Regions from separate parts of the Homo sapiens genome. Here region 2 is linked to region 1. Evidence: promoter capture Hi-C in human tissues and cell types (Jung and others, 2019). All regions are on one chromosome and are shown on one strand. The core of a region is centred on a gene start or on the middle of the fragment in contact, and the rest is flanking DNA. Distances in the headings are between cores, read along the strand shown.

Region 1 (2,784 bases), core at 1-2,500:
TGAGATGCTCTCTTCAGTGTGGAAAGATGGGGGAAGAGGAACGTTTAGCAACACAGGAGGTAGATGGTCAAAAAAGCAACTACATGCCTTAAGAAAAAAGTTGGAACAATGATTCCTACAGTCTTTAGGTCACTAAAGACCTTTAATGTCCTCTCACTGGTTAAATTCAAGCAACACACACACATTTTAAAAATTAATGATTCCTATTACGTGTGAATAAACCTGAACTTTTTTTTTGTTTTAGTGAACATAATTTACACTGGCAAAATCGTCCCCAATCCTCCATATCAAATGAGTATAGAGGTGGGTGGGTGAGCTCAAAGGTCTTTTGCCCCTGTAGTTAAAAGCCTAAAGAAGTCTTCTGATCACTGTGGCTGATAGTAATACATCTCAGTATTAATACAGACAAGTGACTACCTGTAATACAGGTCTTCGAAACATGGCTTCTATTTTCTTTTCTTACAGTCTAATCTTTAGGCTTTTCCTGAAGGAAAAAAACAAAATAAGAAAAAAACATTACCTCTTATGGCAAAAGTACAACTCACCAGTCCTAAATTCCTAACTATATTCATAATTTTTATGCACTCCAATTTTGTGACCACAACGTACCAACATTCCTGCACATCTGATGAGGATTCCTTCCTCCCTCCCAAATAAACTCACACCTGTATGTCTTTTTGGTCCCAAATAACTTCCTCTTCCTCCAACCCATCGACAAAATTTTGATTCTGAGTTAATCCCACTTCCAATCCACTGTCTTCTCAAATTTCATTACTATGCAAGCTCCCTTAGAGCAGAGATTTGTATCTGCTTTATTCACTGCCATTTTCTAAACTTCTAAAAAAGTTCTTAATGCATAGTAAGGCCTCCATAAATATTAGCATCACCAAGGGACTTATATCTGAAACCTGTTACTGAAAAATTACTGCCTTCATCTCCGTTAACAAAGACCAAGCAGCGTAGAGACCCCCGGGCTAGCCAGCCACACCATAGGGAGAGGTGGACACCCTTTACCGAAGATGGCGCCACCACCTGAAAACCGAGGAGAACTGGAAGGAAATCACGCGGTCCTCCGCACGACTGATGAAAGGGCCAGACACCTACACAGAAACACCTCCCGACCCACGCAGGATCACGCGCAGCCAAAACACACGACTCCAGCACTTCCTTCGCGCTGGCTATCCCTTCCTCCCTCACCTGACGATCTAACCCGAGCAGCCCAGCCACGCAGGGGATCACTTCCGGCGCACAGGGAACGCAAAGCTCGCCAGAGGAAAAAGGAAACAGAAACTCCGCAACTTGCGCCTTGGAAATACTGCCGGCTAGCGCTGCGGGAAACGGCTCCCCTTAACTCTGAAGTTCCGCGATCTTCTCTTTGTGCGCGGGCGGATGGATCAACGCCGCCAAGTGGTGAGTTTGGAAGGTTTCAAGTTTAGAAGGTTTCAAGTTTAGAAGGTTTCAAGTTTGGAAAGAAATGAAATTATGTGATGAGGTTTCTAACTGGGCCCAGGAGGGGGCGAGGTAGGCAAAACAGAGACTAGCTCTGCCTGGAGGGAAAAAAAAGCAACATTTGTGACCAGCCTAGGCGACATAGTGAGACCTGTCTCTACAAAAAATATATAATTAGCTGGGCGTGGTGGCGCGCGCCTGTGGTCCAAGCTTCTCCGGAGGCTGAGGTCGGGGGATCGCCTGAGCCCTGGAGGTCGTTGCTGCATTGAGCCGTGAACGCACCACTGCATTCCAGCCTGGGCAACAGAGCGAACTCTATCTCAAAACAAAACAAAACAAAACAAGAAAAAGAAAAAAAGAAGAAAATTAAAAAAAAAAAGAAAGAAAAAGAACGTCCCAGGTCTGTTGAAGCACTAAGAAAAGCAGAAAAAGAAAGGGGAGCCAGGGAAGGGCTGGCAGGCTGTGCAATTTAAGGGAGCACCAGAAAAACTGGCAATCAAATAATATATTAATGTAATATTTTAAAAAGTAAAAATTAATGCAGGAAATCCGGGAGGAACAAAATAAGAGTCATGTGTACCTTAACAACAGGGTAAGGTCTGAGGATTGCGTCATTAGGCGATTTTGTTGCTGTACGAACACCACAGAATGTACTTTGACGACCTAGATGGTGGAGCCTGGACACACCTCGGCTCTGTGGTGTGGCCTGCTGCTTCCAGGCTGCAAACCTGACAGCATGGGGCTGTACTGAATACCGCAGACCATTGTAATTCATGGTAAGTATCTGTGTGTCTAAACATATGTAAACATGGAAAAGGTACAGTACAAATGCGGTATAAAAGATAAAAATGGCACACCTGTATGGGGCGCTTACCATGAATGGAGCTTGCGGAACTGGAAGTTGCTGTGGGTGAGTAAATGAGTGAGTGGTGGCCCAACATGAAGGTCTAGGACATTATTGTACCCACTAAACACTTCATAAACACTGTACACTTAGGCTACACTCAGTTTATAAAAAATACTTTTCTTCCTTTAATAAACTTTCACTCACTATAACTTTATAAATCTTCCAAATTTTTTTACGTTTTAACTGTTTTGTAATAACAATTAGCTTAAAACACACACTGTACCACTGTACAAAAATATTTTTCTTATATCCTTATTCTACAAGCTTTTTTCTACCTTTGCTTTTTTTCTTTTTTTTTTTAACTTTTTAGCCATTTTTTAAAAAAACTAAGACATAAACACACACATTAGCCTAGGCCTACACAGGGTCATTATGATCAATCTCAGCCTTCCACTTCCACATCTTGTCCCACTGGAAGGTTTTCAGAA
Region 2 (2,784 bases), core at 212-2,711, 1.3 Mb after region 1:
ATTACGCCCGGCCACATGTATATTTTTTCTGGAACTACCTTATTCAATCATTCAGTAAGTAAACATTGCACGCCAGCAATGGGAGACACAATATTAGGTGTTCAAGAGAGTGCAGATGTATGTACTGTATTATAAATAAACATTTTCAATATGTTTGCTAGGTAAACATCACCTAAAGAATCAGGTAGAGGTGTGTTTTAGTGTTTGTGCTCATTTCTCCCTATAGCACATCACTCCTGTATCTAGGAATTTGACTAAAGCTATTTTCTTCACTTAGAAGTTTTGATTAGAATGTTTTTAATTGCTCGGAATCACCTGTATTTTCCTACTGGTTACATTTTTTCTAATGTTTCTCCTGGGGTTTTCATTGTGTTTTATACCTTTCCTCAGAAACTGTGTTATGCTGCCACCACCAGGCTGTTTTTCATATCTTTTATTAGAGCAATACTAAGAAACAGAAATGCTCATTGCATCTGCTACCTTGAGTTACCTTGAGTGTGTGAGGTTAGAACAGTTAATACTTAAAGAGAAGTTGTAATTTGAATTTAGACCCCTCTTTATTAGAGTGCTTCTATAATGGCAGATAAGTGTTCTGGTAGTTGAAATAATACACAAAAAAACAAGTGTTTAATTTTTAATTTTTCAAAAAACTCTTTTCTTGATTTTTATTTGTATTTATTTGTATTTTTTGAGATAGGGTCTCGCTCTGTCCCCTAGGCTGGAATGCAGTGGCAGTGTCTTGGCTCATTGCAGCCTCCACCTCCCAGGCTCAAGCAATCCTCCTGCTTGAACCTCCCCAGTAGCTGGAATTACAGGCACGTGCCACCACCCCAGGCTAATTTTTTTTTGCATTTTTGATAGAGACAGGGTTTCACCCTGTTGCCTAGGCTGGTCTTGAACTCCTAAGCTCAAGTGTTTCACCCGCCTCGGCCTCCTAAAGTGCTGGGATTACAGGTGTGAGCCACCATGCTTGGCCTTGAAAGTTGTGTTTTGTTTGTTTGTTTGTTTGTTTTCTGAGATGGAGTCTGTGTCGCCCAAGCTGGAGTGCAGTGGCACGATCTCGGCTCACTACAACCTCTGCCTCCTGGGTTCAAGGAATTCTGGTGCCTCAGCCTTCCGAGAAGCTGGGATTACAGGCACGTGCCATCACACTCGGCTAATTATTTGTACGTTTAGTAGAGATGGGGTTTCACCATGTTGCCCAGGCTGGTCTTGAACTCCTGACCTCAGGTGATCCACCCACCTTGGCCTCCCGAAGTCCTGGGATTACAGGCATGAGCCCCCGTACCTGGCCTCAAAAGTTTTTAAAAATGTGGTTAACGTAACTTAAAGATCAGCTGGGCGTGGTGTCTCACCCCTGTAATTCTAGTACTTTGGGAGGCCAAGGCAGGTGGATCACTTGAGGTCAGGAGTTCGAGACCAGCCTGGCCAACATGACGAAACCCGTTCTCTACTAAAAATACAAAAATTAGCTGGGCGTGGTGGCGGGCACCTGTAATCCCAGCCACTCTGGAGGCTGAGGTGGGAGAATCACTTGATCCCAAGAGGCAGAGGCTGCAGTGAGCCAAGATTGCACCACTGCACTCCAGCCTGGGTGACAGAGTGAGATTTCGTCTCAAAAAAAAAAAAAAAGAAAGAAGGAAATCCTTCAGAAATTCTTTATCTGAGTGCTGTGACGTCCATAGTGAAATTTATTACTTGGAAACTACATAGTGGTTGTGAGAGGAAATAAGTAATAAATATTAAATGGTATTAAAAAGATTATGCAACTGGGAAAGAAAAATTAATTTGCTATCGCTACCATGATTCACCATCACATCTAGCTGTCTTCTACAGCCTTTTATTTATTTATTTTTTTTTTGAGACGGAGTCTCAGTGGCGTGATCCTGGTTCACTGCAACCTCTGGGCCCCCCCCAACCCACTGCGAGTTCAAGCAATTCTGCCTCAGCCTCCCAAGTAGCTGGGACTACAGGTGTGTGCCACCATGCCTGGCTAATTGTTTGTTTTTTTTGTATTTTTAGTAGAAACAGGGTTTCACTGTGTTAGCCAGGATGGTCTTGAGCTCCTGACCTCATGATCCACCTGCCTCAGCCTCCCAAAGTGCTGGGATTACAGGTGTGAGCCACCGCACCTGGCCTAATTTTTGTATTTTTGGTAGATAGTGGGTTTCACCATGTTGGCCATGCTGGTTTTGAACACCTGACCTCAGGTGATCCACCTGCCTCTGCCTCCCAAAGTGCTGGGATTGTAGGTGTGAGCCACCGGGCCCACCCTACAGTCTTTTATTCTTTCTTTCTTTCTTTCTTTCTTTCTTTCTTTCTTTCTTTCTTTCTTTCTTTCTTTCTTTTTTTTTTTTTTTTGAGACGGAGTTTCGCTGTTGTTGCCCAGGCTAGAGTGCAGTGATACAATCTTGGCTCGGTGCAATCGCCATCTCCTGGGTTCCAGCGATTTTCCTCTCTCAGCCTCCAGAGTAGCTGGGATTACAGGCTTGTACCATCACACTCGGCTAATTTTTGTATTTTTAGTAGGTACCGCTTTCACCATGTTGGTCAGGCTGGTCTCAAACTCCCAACCTCAGGTAATCCACCCGCCTTGGCCTCCCAAAGTGCTGGGATTACAGGCATGAGCCACCGAACCCGGCTTTCTACCTTTTTCTAACAAGTATATATTATGTGCACAGATAGTTGGAGATAAAAAGGGGAATAAACCAGTCTTTACCCATCAGGAATTTATAATCTAGTTTGATAAATGGTATACTCACTCATTAAAAGTTAAATATCAAA

Evidence for each region. The method cuts DNA at HindIII sites, captures the fragments that hold promoters and counts their contacts. A contact is called where the count stands out against the background at its distance.
Region 2: a fragment that was not itself captured here is called in contact with the fragment with the promoter of SSBP1 in region 1 in 1 of the 25 tissues and cell types used here (adrenal gland).

The regions. Positions count from the first base shown.
Region 1 is chr7:141,736,824-141,739,607 of GRCh38, reverse strand. It overlaps SSBP1 (single stranded DNA binding protein 1), which reads right to left and starts at 1,250. Exons shown (of 7, transcript NM_003143.3): 1 at 1,198-1,250; 2 at 418-484. The coding sequence starts at 441. WEE2-AS1 (WEE2 antisense RNA 1) reads left to right here and starts at 1,566. Exons shown (of 4, transcript NR_199841.1): 1 at 1,566-2,225. RefSeq lists an enhancer at 1,348-2,233. The HindIII fragment of the contact is 9,000 bases long and covers 1-2,140 here.
Region 2 is chr7:140,473,570-140,476,353 of GRCh38, reverse strand. All of the region lies in intron 1 of MKRN1 (makorin ring finger protein 1), which reads left to right. Among named protein-coding and RNA genes, the nearest start is that of MKRN1, 4.5 kb to the left of the region's middle. The HindIII fragment of the contact is 7,012 bases long and covers 1-2,784 here.